5 separate regions of the Homo sapiens genome follow, and regions 2, 3, 4 and 5 are each linked to region 1. The links are contacts of gene promoters, found by promoter capture Hi-C in blood cells and fetal thymus (Javierre and others, 2016). All regions are on one chromosome and are shown on one strand. The core of a region is centred on a gene start or on the middle of the fragment in contact, and the rest is flanking DNA. Distances in the headings are between cores, read along the strand shown. Region 1 holds the start of WSCD2 (WSC domain containing 2). Region 2 has its middle 14 kb from the start of FICD. Region 3 has its middle 3.9 kb from the start of LINC01498. Region 4 overlaps LINC01498 (long intergenic non-protein coding RNA 1498). Region 5 has its middle 44 kb from the start of LINC01498.

What was found. The method cuts DNA at HindIII sites, captures the fragments that hold promoters and counts their contacts. A CHiCAGO score of 5 or more calls a contact.
Region 2: a contact is called between a fragment that was not itself captured here and the fragment with the promoter of WSCD2 in region 1, in 1 of 17 cell types (M0 macrophages). The highest score is 6.9, in M0 macrophages.
Region 3: a contact is called between a fragment that was not itself captured here and the fragment with the promoter of WSCD2 in region 1, in 2 of 17 cell types (M1 macrophages and M0 macrophages). The highest score is 6.6, in M1 macrophages.
Region 4: a fragment that was not itself captured here is called in contact with the fragment with the promoter of WSCD2 in region 1 in 3 of 17 cell types (endothelial precursors, M0 macrophages and M2 macrophages); the score reaches 7.1 in endothelial precursors.
Region 5: a contact is called between a fragment that was not itself captured here and the fragment with the promoter of WSCD2 in region 1, in 1 of 17 cell types (monocytes). The highest score is 5.2, in monocytes.

What each region holds. Positions count from the first base shown.
Region 1 is chr12:108,127,668-108,130,537 of GRCh38, forward strand. WSCD2 (WSC domain containing 2) reads left to right here and starts at 1,621. Exons shown (of 9, transcript NM_014653.4): 1 at 1,621-2,259. RefSeq lists a silencer at 1,842-1,931. The HindIII fragment of the contact is 4,828 bases long and covers 1,300-2,870 here.
Region 2 is chr12:108,499,613-108,502,482 of GRCh38, forward strand. No RefSeq gene overlaps it. Among named protein-coding and RNA genes, the nearest start is that of FICD, 14 kb to the right of the region's middle. The HindIII fragment of the contact is 2,219 bases long and covers 285-2,503 here.
Region 3 is chr12:108,476,184-108,479,053 of GRCh38, forward strand. No RefSeq gene overlaps it. Among named protein-coding and RNA genes, the nearest start is that of LINC01498, 3.9 kb to the left of the region's middle. The HindIII fragment of the contact is 7,107 bases long and covers 1-2,870 here.
Region 4 is chr12:108,459,133-108,462,002 of GRCh38, forward strand. LINC01498 (long intergenic non-protein coding RNA 1498) reads right to left here. Exons shown (of 4, transcript NR_120483.1): 3 at 2,498-2,562; 4 at 293-452. Among named protein-coding and RNA genes, the nearest start is that of LINC01498, 13 kb to the right of the region's middle. The HindIII fragment of the contact is 1,901 bases long and covers 503-2,403 here.
Region 5 is chr12:108,428,157-108,431,026 of GRCh38, forward strand. No RefSeq gene overlaps it. Among named protein-coding and RNA genes, the nearest start is that of LINC01498, 44 kb to the right of the region's middle. The HindIII fragment of the contact is 1,271 bases long and covers 861-2,131 here.

The sequences.
Region 1 (2,870 bases), core at 371-2,870:
AAATTGATTGTGTGTGTGTTTTAGATGAAAATCCTAACTTTACTGCTTATTTTTTTATGGCTAATTATAATCTGCTAGTTTTGAAGGCCAGCAAGAGGGCTAAACAATGCTTGTGCAGAGCCCTGGCAACCTCAAGACAGGTAGGGATAAAGAGGAAGAACCGAAGAGGAGGGAGGGAGATGATTGACAGGAAGTGTACGGAACAAATGTGGAGGGCTTAACATGTGCTGCTGGGAACACCCACCCACTTTAATCAGTTTCATTCTCTTGTCAACATTAGAAGAAATCTTTAGTCCTATTTTACCGATTGGGCAACCAAGGCCAGAGAGGCTAAGTCATTTACTTTAGGACATACAGCTGGTAATTATGGAGTTAGGATTGCAAGATGCAGCAAAATAAAATAAAGGACATCCAATTATATTTGGGTTCTGAGTAAACAATGTAAAAAAAATAGTGAAAGTATATCCCATGTAAAATTTCAGACTTATACTAAAAATTTAACTGGGCATCCTGTATTTTACCTGGCAACTGTTGAGGAGATTCAAATTCAGTTCTCTTTGTTATTTCCCAGACACCCCTTACTATGGGACATATATAATACTGTAGAATATGTGATCAGTACCAGCAGATACTGGTTGAGTTCAGGCCTCAAGCTTTATATCTGCCATTTTGCTTGAAACCCTTTAATCCTTATATCACCTATCCAGTAGGTATTATCATTGTTCCCATTTTATGGATGAGGAAACTGAGGCTCCTTAAGATGAAATAACTTGGTCACGGTGACACAACCAGAAAGTACTAGAGCCCATGCTTGAACCCAGTTCTGTTTTGCTCAAGAATGGTCTCTCAAAAAAAAAAAAAAAAAAGAAACACAAAAAAACAAAAAACAGTTAAGATTTAACCCATGTACAGAAAAGCACTTGATATGTAAATGTACAGTACAACGACTTGTCACAAACACCTGTGCAGCCACCAGCCAGATCAAGAAAGAAAAGATGTCCAGCTCCCGTTAGATGCCCTGCCCCGTCATGAGAAGGGCTCTTCTGCCAGAGCTTCTCTGGGAATTCTTTGACTACGGGCATTACTGTCCCCATTTTACAGATGGGGACACAAAGGTTCAGAGAGGTGCTGTGACTTGCCCAAGGTCACAGAGATTGGAAAGCAACAGGCTCAGAGAGGGCGAGTGATCACCCAGAGGTTACACAGCTAAAACTTACCACCTGTTAAAACTACAAACTAAATACCAAAAACCGAAACTGCGCTTTATTGGGTGTTTACTATTTGTGAGGCACCGTGCTAAGCTTCTTGGTCGACAACAGTAGCAGCAGCAGCAAGCACTCTGCCATTTGGGGTGCATACTCCCCATGTCAGGCAGCTTGGCACTTTGCGTAATCCGCTCAGTGAATTTTTCCAGCGACCCTATGGTTTGGGCTTGGGTCTCGAACCCATTTTACAGAAGAGGACACTGAGGCCGGAAGGCTGAGGCCCCTGCCCGATATGCTCAGCCGGCCTGGCACCGGCTATGCCCGGCTCCCCGGGAGGCTGCGGGAGGGCCAGGTGGCATGCAAGGAGTTAAGCGGTAGGCAGTGCTGTGGCTCCGTGCGAGGAGCGCGCCGGGCTGAGGCGCGCTGCTGGTGGCGGCGGCGGCAGCGGCGCGGGAGCTAGGGCTGGAGACGTGAAGTCCAGGGGAGCGAGCAAGGCAGCCAAGGAGGCAGCGGCGAGGCAGCGAGAGAGAGCCAGGCGGCCGGAGCTCCGCGCCGAGCCGCAGCCGGTGCCCTGCGCGCACCGGGCCCGGGCATCTCCATCCCCGGGGCGGGTGCCCGCGCGGGGCCTCGCCGCGGCTCGGGGCACCCGCAGTGCCGCCCGCCCGAGCGCCAGGCTCACAGGAGCCCGGCTTTCACTTCCTCTCGCTTCCGCCCGCCTCCCTGGCTCGCCGGCTGGCGTCGCCACCGCCTCCTCGTCCCCGGCCACCGCTGTCGCCGCTGCTGCAATTCAAGGCGCACACTATCCCACTTTCCCGCTGGAGGCGCAGAGGATGCCCCTTGAGCCAGACCTGGAGAAATAGCCCCAGGGCCCGGCAGGAGGAGCCTTGGTGGCGAGAAAGGAAATCCAGGCTCCCCTTTCCTTAAAGCCACTGCAGCAGCTGGGAAGGCGCCCACAGAGCGGGCGCGCCAAGCGGGACGCGGGAGTCGCAGAGAGGGACCCCGGGCGCCTGCTGAGCTCAGCTGGCAGAGTTTGCAAGTGGCGGAGACCCTTCAGGTAAGGACTCAGGTGCCTGGACCTGGGAAGAGGGCTCCAGGAGGGAGCCGGGCGCGGAGCTGGTGCGAAATGTCTTCTGCCCCTAGATCTGGGCTTCGCTTTCCAGACGCTTCCCCGCAGGTTGGGGGCTCGTCGTCCAGAGCCCGGCGAGTGAGGAACCCAGAGTGGTGACAGCCCAGCTCTGCGTAGATGACAAACTTTCTCTCCTCTGGCAGAGGGTGGGACATTCCGGCTCATCCAGGCATCCTTCCTCTGGGCATTCCTGTGCCCCCTACAGGCATGCATTCAAGGGCTTCTCCCGCGGAGGTGGGCCAGCGGGGAGGCAGTGGGCCCCGTAAATTTGATTTATGAATCACCCTCTTTCTGGCCAGTGCAGAGTTCCAAGGGAGAGGGAGCTAGTCATATTTCCAAGTTGGCTGTAGAAGATGTTTCTTGGGGGTGATACTCTGGTGAATAAGGCTGCCTGTCATCTGATGCCAACAGCCAGAGCTGCCCAGGCAATGGGCTTTGTGTAGGGTGCCTTGCAGATTTGCTTATGTCCATTCTGGGGTGTGTGTGTGTGTGTGTGTGTGTGTGTGTGTGTGTGTGTGTGTGTAAAGAGAGAGAGGGAA
Region 2 (2,870 bases), core at 144-2,643, 370 kb after region 1:
ACACCATGAGCTCCTGCCTCAGGGCTTTTGCATGTGCTGTTCCCCCTGCAACACTCTTCCCTTCAGACATCCACATAACTCACCACCTCTATCACAAACCACTCCTCACCCTCTTCCCCACTTAATTTTTTCCACAGGGCTTGTCAGCCTCGAATATACCATATCATTTACCTATTTCGTTTAGTGTCTCTCTCCTCCACCAGAAAGTAAGCTGTGTGAGGGCAGGAATTGAGTCTGTTTTGTTTACTGCGGTTTCCCAGGGCCCAGGACGGGCTCTCAGTGGAAGCTTAAGTGAGCGTATTCTGTTGCAGTGCTTGGTACTATCACAAAACGCTCTCTCTAGAGGGAACACCAAGGCACAGCTGTAGCATGAAGTTGGTTAAGGTTTGGCAAAGTTTTCTGGGCACCCAGGTGAGAAGCCAAAACTGGAGGGGACGAGGAGGGACGAGCAGGGGGTTTTCAGGGGTTATCAGGCCAAATAACCAAGATGGGGAGCCTGGGCTGCCAAGTGGGCTATTACTTGTATTTTAGGGGGACACAGCCCCAAGGACAACACTGGGAAAGAGAGTGCCACCTTTTCTTCCAGTCACAGGGAAGACAACTGAACTATCCTCATGCTGCAGGCCAAAGAGATGCCTCCCATTTTCTGAACCTCTCACCTGGGAAGTAACCCATATTTTATTTAATCCTAGACCCAGATGTGCCAGAAATGATCAGAATTCCCAAGTGTCAGAGCTCCCTCCAAAGCCACCCCTTGCAGCATCTCAACCCTCTCCCAAAAATGGTTATCTGACCTGGAGCTGAGGACCCAGAGAGAGCTTGAGGGTCCCACTCTTCCTCCTCTGGCAGAGCCCACCGCAGGAGTGAGCCGTGGCTGGGCAGGGTGGGGCGGTAGACTCAGAGGTCTTTGCTCTGGGATCTGCAGAACATTTAGGGAGGCATCAGCTGCTGCTCCGCTTCCAAATAAAGCCCAGGTGCTTTTTCAAGCCTCTCTGAACCAGCACTTCTCAAACTTCATGTCAGCATTTCTTGAAGAGTTCCCAGGCCACAGATTCCTTGGGGTAGAAGAGAGGTAGAGGGAGAGACACTCATTTGGAACACCTTTTTGTATACCTCTGACTCCTAGAGTTATGGAAATATTTCACATGCCCAGAAAATCAATCAATAAATAATTAAAATCAACCAAGATGTGGGGGCTTCCCAAAGCGTGGTCTGTGGACCAGCAACTTCATTGGCCTCACCTGGGAGCTCGAACCCCTGGCCTTCATTTAAATTAATTAAATTTAGCCAGGCGTGGTGGTACACACCTATAGTCCTAGCTACTCAGGAGGCTGAGGCATGAGAATCACTGGAACCTGGGAGGCAGAGATTGCAGTGAGCTGTGATCGCACCACTGGGTGATCCAGCCTGGGCAACAGAGTGGGACTCTGCCTCAAAAAAAAAGAGCAAGAACTTTTTCTTTTGAAAAATTTAGACTCAAAAATTGAATACCTGGAGTTTTTCTGTGTCCTTTACCCAACGTTCCCTAATGTTGATATCTTGCATAACAACACAACAACTATCTAAACCAAGAAATGAACATTGGTGAATCTGTGGACATTCAAATTTCATCAGTTTTTTCCATTAATGAACACTTAATAAAAAAAACTAAATTTTTTTGACCATTTGCTGGTCCAGGATCCAATCCAGGATTCCACATTGCATGTAACTCTCCTACAGGACCATAATACAACCATCAAAATCAAGCAACGAACACTGATCTACTACCATGTTCTCCCCAGACCCCATTTAAGTTTCACCAATTGTTTTAATAAAGTTCTCTCTAGTAAAAGAATACAATTCAGAATCAGCCAAATACTTCATTGTCATATTTCCTCAGTGTCGTCCAATATGTAATAGTTTTGTCTTTTATGATCTCGATAACTTTTGAAAAGTACTGGCCTTTATTTTCTAGAATTTCATTCAACTTGAATTTGTCTGATGTTTTCTCATATTTAGCTTGAGTCACTGCACACCCAACATCAGAGACCAGTAAGCCACCAGCTGCCACGTGTTGAGCTGTATGTGTAGCAAAATCAGTTGTTTGCTGCCAAACCTATTTATGCCAGTTTCATTTGTAACTAGTTAAGTAGTATGTAGTAGGATTAAATAGGAGGGAAAGGCCAGGCACAGTGGCTCATGCCTGTAATCCCAGCACTGTGAGAGGCCAAGGTGGGAGGATCGCTTGAGCTCAGGAGTTTGAGACCAGCCTGGGCAACATGGTGAAACACTATCTCTACAAAAAATGCAAAAATTAGCCAGCATGGTGGTTCATGCCTGTGGTCCCAGGTTATCAGGAGGATGGCTGGAGCTCTAGAGGTCAAGGCTACAGTGAGCTGTGATTGCACCACTGCACTCCAGCCTGAGCAACAGAGTGAGACCCTGTCTAAAAAAAAGAAGGGAAAAAGAAAAGTTGTTTCTGTGAAAACTAAGTTAAGTGTTTCGAATAGCCCTGAGAAAAGCAAGCTTCTAAATAGAAATTGATGAAGAATTAGTTGTAAGATAAAGATGGAGGGGGAGGAAAATTATAAAAATCTGGAAGGGTTCTGTATGCTGCTTAGCCAGTGTCTTTAAATTCTCATTAAATTCAAAATGAACCAAAAAAGGAAATCACCTGATTCATGCAGGGAAGACAATGTGAGACTTCACCCAATTAACTCATTTGTTAATCAACCATTAACCCAATATTAATATTAGTATTCACAGTACAAATTAGTATACAGAATACTAGTATGTGTAAGTTAAAAGATAAGATAAAATATTCATAATGTAAGGTTTTCTGTTTCTCTATCCTAACCCACTTTTTCAACTAAGCCTCAACACCAGTCAAT
Region 3 (2,870 bases), core at 157-2,656, 350 kb after region 1:
TGCCTCTCTGTTCCCCAAAGCATGTGTGAGGATGGCAGGTGAGTCCCGGTTTCTAAAAGAAAATGCTGGAGTCCATTGGCATCCCCCTGCCCCCCAATAAGCTGCCCCCGGTCCCCAGAGTCCCTGCATGCAGCAGCCTGACACGGCCCATCTTTGACTCCTTCTCCTCCAGGGCCAGGCTGTGACAAAGGTCAGGAGGCCGTGAAATTTCTCAGGGGAACAAATTTCCATTTCTGTCAACTGCATTTAGGCAGCTCCATCCAGAGAAAATAAAAACAAAGGGTCACGCTCCTTCCCCAATTTGGCACACTGTCCATTTTCACGGGGAGTCCACACCAGGAATGGCAAGATAGTGAGTCCTGAGCACTGGTTAATCTAATATTTTACTTTACAGTTATTAGAATTATGAAAAGCCAGCATTTGTTGGATAGGCTGCCCTGATTTCTTTTTTTTAAGTGATAAGGTCTGGCTCTGTTACTCAGGCTGGAGTGCAGTGGTGCAATCGCAGCTCACTGCAGCCTCGAACTCCTGAACTCAAGCCATTCTCCCACCTTGGCCTCCCTAGCAGATGAGACGACAGGCACACACCACCATGCCGTTAATTTTTAAATCTTTTTTAGAGATAGATCTTGACATGTTGCCCAGTCTGGTCTTGAACTCCTGGCCTCAAGCAATCCTCCTGCCTTGGCCTCCCAAAGTGCTGGGATTACAGGCATGAGCCACCACAACAGGCCTGATATTTTATTCTTGAAAGGAAGATTTCACACTAGTAGCAGTCACCTCATAAAAAAGATAATTTTTTTTTCTGGCCTGGCCTATTTCACCTCCTTATGGACAATTTTCCTAGCCAGAAAGAAAGAGATTTAAAAGGTGGATTTTTTTTTTCTAAGCATCCTGAACAGAAGCCAGAGACCTGGACTTCTCTCAGCTCTGGTCACAAGGAGAGGAGAGCAGGGATGGAAGCCACATTGAGAGTCCTGGGGTACCTGTGTGGTTGCCAATCCCAGTTGGGCCAATTACTATCTGTGTGTAACTTCAATGGTCCTCAGTTTCCCCACTTGTAAAATGAGGATACAAATAAAGTTGTCTGAGGATTGAATGAGAGTGAAGGCAAAGTGCCTCACATGCGGTAGGCATTCATTATGATGCAGAGTTTTCACACGTGGGGGTTATTTTGGCTTCTGACATCAGCGTCTTCCTTGTTTCTCTACAAGCCAATCAACACCCTTGCTTCAGGGCCACCTCCCCTGGGAAGCCCTCATTGACTTGATTTTCTCAGCCTGCAATCATCTTTGTCACCTGTGAATCTCTGTACACTACTTAAGGCTCAACTATAAACTCTAGATAAGTCTCTAGATTAGGCTTGATATAGGAGTTAAAAAGAAATTACTTAGGCAGATAGGGTACAGAAGTCCTCGGTAAGGTTTTCCTTTTAATGAAAATCAGCCCCAAATCATTTTCTTTTCTAACAAAGAGCAGCCTGTAAAATCGAGCGGCAGACATAGATGCCGGCCGTTGTGCCAATCATGTTCAAGATGGTGGCTCCATCTCCCCTTCTCTTTGTCAGACACGTGTACAGTAAGGAGCAGACAAGATGGCGCCAGCCAAGGGGAGGGGCCATTTGCATAGTAAGATTAGAGTGGGTTGGGCAGCCTTCCCCAAATGCTATGTAAACGTCACACCTGATCCAGCCAATCTGCGGTCCCTACCTAAATCAGACACCACCTCCACAAGCCTGCCTATAAAATCTGGCAAACTCCACTACAGGCGGGTCTTTCCTTTTGGAAGCCTCTCCCTCTCACTAGAGAGCTGTTCTGCTTTCTCTTTCTTTTGCCTACTAAACCTCTGCTCTTAAACTCCTCATGTGTGTCCGTGTCCTAAATGTTCTTGGCACAAGACAACGAATATCCCAAGTATTTACCCCAGACAAGGAAGTCACTTCAGTCTCACCTCCCCAGCTAGACCAGAAGTGTCTCTGGAGCAGGGCTAGGATCGCGGGGGAGGCTCTAGGCAAGAATCTCTGTGCCTCTTTCAGGTTCTGGTGGCTCTGAGTCCTGTGGCTTGTGACTGCATCACTCTAATCTCTGTCTCCATATTCACATGGCCTTCTATCTCTTATAAGGACACTTATTTTTTAGGGCCCACCTCAGTAATCCAGGGTGATCTCATTTCAAGATGCTTAATTTAATTACACCTAGAAAGGCCTTTTCTATAAGGTTGTTTTTACAAGTCCTGGGGGTTAGGACATGGACATACCTTTTTTCTCAGAGGGAAACACCATTCAACCTCTGTGGCTTCTCATAGCATCTTAAACCTTTCCATCACTCCTCTAACCCCAGCTGGCAATTTTATATTTATTTGTGAAACTATTTGGCAATGCCTGTATCCTTAGGAAGCTGCAGATAACAAGAGGACAAATTCCACATCTGCACTGCTCACCACTCTACCCCCAGCACACAGTAGGTGCCTAGAATGTGTTTGTGGAACAAACGGACAGCTGAGCCCGGAGCTCCTGGAGAATGCTTCTTGTCAAGGACACCATGCAGGCAGCCATGAGCAAGGCCTTCAGTGAGCAATGTGCTCAAGACTTTACGGCCTCGTAAATCCCATGGCTGGTGGCATGATTAGAACTAAGTAAAAATGCAAGCAATTTAATTTCCCAGTGCACAGCCTGCAGAGCCTTGTAAACTCACCCCCTAAACCAGTAGCCATAAACGTTTGATAAAACACCATGTGGCTTCCTGTTTCCCAGAAATAGTTCCTGGGCCCAAGGAAGAAGCGACATCCAGCCCCCACTTGAGGTTACGTGAGCACTGTAATTAATGTTTGATAGAGGGCTTCCTAATGGCCTGAGCTCTTGGTGGCCATAT
Region 4 (2,870 bases), core at 203-2,702, 330 kb after region 1:
ATTACTACTGGAAGGGAGACCAACCTTGGAGACCAGGGTACTCCTTACCAGACGTGGCACTTCTCTCCAGCCTCAGGTGAGAGCAAGAGCAAGCCTGCATATCCCTTCTGCCACCATCTGGTCCTCAATCCTCAACTCCAGCAAGCAAATGCTTGGATGAGAATGCACACCCTGTCTCCCAAGAGCAAACAAGTGCGTTCAGGCCTGGGGCAGCCAAACTCTAAGTTTAGAAACAGATTTTGCTCCAACCCTGCAGGGGCATGTTCTACCAACAAACACAGTTTGCTTTAGGTTCCCTTTAGAATACTTAACTGCTCCATCTGCAGCTTCAGTATTTGAGCTTTCAGGGCATCCCCAAGAACCGTGGATAGTTATTTTGCTTATTTTCTTCTCACCAAGTGCTCACACCCAGAATCAAGGGATGGTCCTGCTCAAAGGTAAACTCCAGTCCCCTTCCCAGAAAACAGAAAATACATGTAACATTTTAAATGAGGGTTTTACAAGCTTTGGGGGAAAAACGTAGAAGCAGATTCTACTCCAGGAACCCTACTAAATATGCATTTATAATTTTGCATTCATTTAACAATATTTACCAAGCATCTGCTACATGCCAGACCTTCTTCAAGGTGCTGAGGACACAAGGGTAGGTAAAGCAAGCCAGGACACTGCAGACAGTCCCCAGCTTATGATGCTTTGATTTTTTCATTTTATGATGGTGAGAAAGCAATAGGCATTCAGTACATTCCTTGATTCACAATGGGGTCACATCCATATTGTAAATTGAGGAGCATCTGTATAGGGATTAGATTCTAGTGTGCATACGCATAGAAAAAAAGGCAAGAGAATATTTTTAAAGTGATAATGGTTATCCCTGAGGATGGCAATAATAGAGATCTTAATTGTTTTTTATGTTTTGCGTTGTTTGAAATTTTTCCAACTGGAAAAAAACTCACAGTATAGATGAATATTTATAGTTATGGGACTATACTCACAAGATATTGCTAAGTGAAAAGAACTGGCTACAGAAGAATATACAAAGTATATTTTTTGTAAATATATATTTACACTGTGTGTGTATCTGTTGCGATGAGTCATCTTGACTAAAGGGATTATGGAGGAATGTGCTGTTCAATTTTCTGTGTCTTTCTGCGTTTTGCAAGTGGTATGAATTGAACACTTATCGCTTTTATAAAAAGGGGGAAAATGGGTCGGGCATGGTGGCTCACACCTGTAATCCCAGCACTCTGGGGGGCCAAACTGGGGAGATCGCTTGAGCCCAGAAGTTCAAGACCAGCCTGGGCAACATGGTGAGACCCTGTCTCTACAAAAAAATACAAAAAAAAAAAAAAATAGCCAGGCATGATGGTGCACATCTGTGGTCCCAGCTACCTGGGAGGCTGAGGTGGGAGGATGACCTGAGCCCGGGAGGTCAAGCCTACAGTAAACCCTGATCATACCACTGCACTCCAGCCTGGGTGACAGAGTGAGACTCTGTCTCCAAAAAAAAAAAAGTCGGGGGAGTGGAGGGTGGGGAATGTCATTTAGCAACAGGAACTTCAACCTATTCCTAAATTATTCTATCCCTAAATTATTCTATCCCTTGGTCTACCAAAATACCTGAAAATTCTCCGTTAGAGTCAGTCATTTGGCTAAACGTTTCCTTCCCAGAGGCTCCTGCTACACTACTTAAGAGGAATAACACACTGGTCTCTGTCACTTGCAAAATGGAAACGTGAACAGGGAATCTGAAAATGAACTGTCACTTTGGAAAGCGAGGAGTCTGCCTGGCTCAGCAAGACACGGACAGACAGGGAAGGGCATGGGGAGTCCCAGTGGCGCATAAGGACTCTCTGCTCTGAAAGTGAGGAGGAGGAGACTGAAGAAAAATCAGATGAGACATGGGATAAGAAGGACCTCCATGCATGCCCCTCTCCCAACACCCAGCACCCACTCTGCAGCCAAGGGGTCAGAGCTGTCGAAGAGTGATGAGCAACCTGTTTACTAAAAAGAAAGAAAAACCTACTTATAAGAGGTTTTTATCTTAGTGAGCCGCTCTGCCTGAGTCTACAGAAATTATCAAGGGTGACATCACTCTCCCCAGTCACAACCCCAGGACTTAACATCCCAGCAACACCCAAAGGACTCACCCACCCACCTCCCTGTCATTGCAGCAGCAGAACTGTCAACCCTAAAAATGAGGATGGTTACGTGAGGAAATATGACTATCACTCCTCTCCAAGCTGTCAGCTAGAATATGAGCCTGGACCTAGACTAGTTGCAGCAGGGACCATGTTTAACAAGGGGCACGGTTGACTGCTGGGACTGCTTTAATATTCAATCCAGACCTCTGATGATGAGTTATTCATTAATGACCAACTGCCTCAAGGCTCCTGTTTTATTGAAAGCTTTACAAACCATCCAAGAAATGAGATATTGAGCTAAACATTTCATTCTTCCTCATTTCATCATTCATCCAACATTTTTTGCAAATACTTACCAGGGGCTAGGGACTGGGGGGTCCAGGTATAAGATTCTTTTGGGCTTGAACATATCTGAGGACACCTTGAATTTTTATAAAAATGTGTATTAGATTTTCTTAATTATGGAAGTAACGCATGCATTGCAATATGCTAAACAACAAAGTAAAGTAAAAAATCAATAATCTCTCCCACTCCATTCTAACTCCAACCCCTTGTAGTTAGCAATGTTAATAGATTGTTGTAGAGTTCCCTTCTCTATGCTTTTTTAAAAAAATGTTCATCTATTTATTTATTTTGAGACTTGATTATGAAACTGGTTAATTTTTGTATTTTTTGTAGAAACGGGGTTTCATCATGGTGCCCAAGCTGATCTCAAACTCCTGGGCTCAA
Region 5 (2,870 bases), core at 246-2,745, 300 kb after region 1:
AGATGGTGAGATTATCCTGGATTATCCGAATGATCCCTAAATCCATTCCAAGTGTTCTTATAAGAGAAAGGTAGAGAGGGGTTCAAGACAGACAGAAGAGAAGACACCAAGAGAAGAGGAGAAGGCAATGTGAAAACAGAGGCACAGACTGGAGTTACGCAGCCACAAGGCTGACAGCCATCAGAGGTGGAAAGAAGCAAGGAAGGCTTCTCCCCCAGAGCCTCGGAGTGCAGCCAACACCTTGATTTTGAACTTCTGCCTTCCAAAATTGGTAGGGAATACATTTGTGTGTGTATGTTAAACCACCAGTTTGTGGCAACTTGTTATAGCAGCCACAGAAAACTAATATAGAGGGGTCCCATGTTGGGCAGGACTGGCCGACCTCTATTACCCCGAAGTGCTGAGTCTTTGGCCGAGAGCATTTGGGAGAAGCACAGCTAGACCTGAACATTTGGGAGAAGCACAGCCAGACCTGGAGCCACCGATGCAGCAGCAAAAGGCAGTCAGTTGGCTGCCTTTGAGGGGGATCTGAGCGGCACACCTTTGGGGCCACCAAGAACCCAGCACCTACTATGCATCGACTATGTCTAGCACACAGTAGACACTCAGAAACTATTGTTAGATGTTGGCTGCAGAATGGATGAATGTTCTGTTTGGGTTCTCAAGGTAAAATCAGTGGATGAGAAGTACAGGGACATGGATTTCAACTTGGCATAATAATCATAGCCAACATTAGACAGAAACTACTATGTGCTATGCACACGTACCAAGACACATGTATCTATGTATATGTTGATGTATGTGTATGTGTGTATACAAACACATGTAGGTATATATGCACACAAACACACAGTCAAATAAGCTTAGACTTCATTTAAAATTTACAACAATCGTTTGAGGTAAGTTTTATTAGCCCCTTTGAGGAAACTGAGTATTTGCTAGGTGCCAGGTGCCTTGTTAAGACATTTCTCAGTACTTGCTCATTTAAATTACCTGACAAGTCTACAGGAAAGGTAGCATATTCTTTCCTTGTATTTTTAATTTTGAGACAGGGTCTTGCTCTGTTGCCCAGGCTGGAGTGCAGTGGCATGATCATGGCTCACTGCAGCCTCAAACTCCCAGGCCCAAGTGATCCTCCCACCTCAACCTCCCGAGTAGCTGCGACCACCGATGCACACCACCACACCTGGCTAATTTTTAAAAATTTCTGTAGACACAGGATCTCACTAGGTTACCCAGGTTGTCACCTGCATTGGTCTCCCAAAGTGCTGGAATAAAAGGAGTGAGACACTGCACCTGGTCACATTATTCTTATTTTATAAAGAAACAAAGCAATTATTTTATAAATAAATAAGACTCGAGGTCACACAGCTAGGTCAACCCAGTTCCGCCTCCAAAGCCCTGCTCCTAATCACGACTTCGTCCTGCCTCCCATGCACATGCGATGATTCTGTTCCAGGACTCCACAGGCCATAAGCCCACAGATACACCAAAAGGCATTGTGATTTTTTTTTTCCTTTTGCTGCCTGTGGTGTCTGAGATGGAAAGTATGCCAGCCCCTGCTTGGAGCAACCGCAGAAGCTCCAGAAGAATGCCCCCACCTTGCTCCTCTCAGGTTCTCTGTCTCAGACGTGGCGCCATCATTGACACTGTCCTCCCAAGCTAGTGTGTTCTGACAACTTGCTGGTAATGGGACGCCAGCGGCAAATTATTAGCCTCCTCCATCCCCACCGCACGCAGCCAGGCTTGGCTTGTTGCTGCCGAATGCCCGATACATGTCAGCTCTGTTTGGAAATTGGATCCAGTCTGGAAATTCACTCGATCACAGTGGGGATCTGAAGGGAACAGTTGAAACTCCCACCTGGATTCCTGCAACTGTCCTTCCTTGGGGCTTTGAAGGGGTCCCAGGCACAGTGAGGTGGGTTTCAGGCTTGAGAGGCTTCGCCCTGGAGGGAGGGCTGAAGGTCAGAGAAGGCAGAACTGAAGGAAGGAAGGTAGCTGGCATCCTGGGCCAGCCTCACCTGCACCACTGCTTGCCGTGTGACCTTGGGCAAGTCATTCACCTGCCCTGGGCAATGTAGTGTGGACCAGATGCTCAGACTGGTGTCAGACAAACACAGGAGGGAATTCAAGCTTGAACACCACCAGATGGATGACCTTGGGCAAGTTCTTTAACCTTTATAAGTCTCAGGTTATTCATCCATGAAATGGATATAAATAATAGCCCTTATTCATAGGGTGACTTTGAGCGTACTACGAGAAGGCATGCAATATGTTTGGCACAGTGCCCAGCACGTAGGAAGTGCTCCATCAATACAGCTGTTCTTAGTGAGATGAAATGGCTCACGCCTGTAATCTCAGCTGAGACAGGAGTATCGCTTGAGCCCAGGAGTTCAAGACCAGCCTGGCCAACATAGGGAAACTCTGTCTCTACAAAAAAAAAATTAAAAATTAGCCGGGTGTGGTGATGTACATATGTAGTCCCAACTACTCAGGAGGCTGAGGTGGGAGGATCTCTTGAGCCCCGGAGGCTGAGGCTACAGTGAGCCATGACTGCACCATTGCACTCCAGCCTGAGCAACAAAGCAGGACTGTCTCTAATAATAAACAAAAAGTTAAAAGTTAAAAAATACAACTATTCTTACCTGCATCACCATCACTAACTGTACTGGCATACATCTAATCCACCTGGCACACCCACTCCAGCGAATCACTCACATGGAGCATGAAATTTGGAACCGGGATCTAGTCAAGTGTGGCCTCCACCACAGTCTGATATGAAATGATTCATTTATTCATTCACCTCCACTTATTGAGTGAATGCAATCAGTTGTCACATATCTAGAATAATATGTGACACCACCACTTAT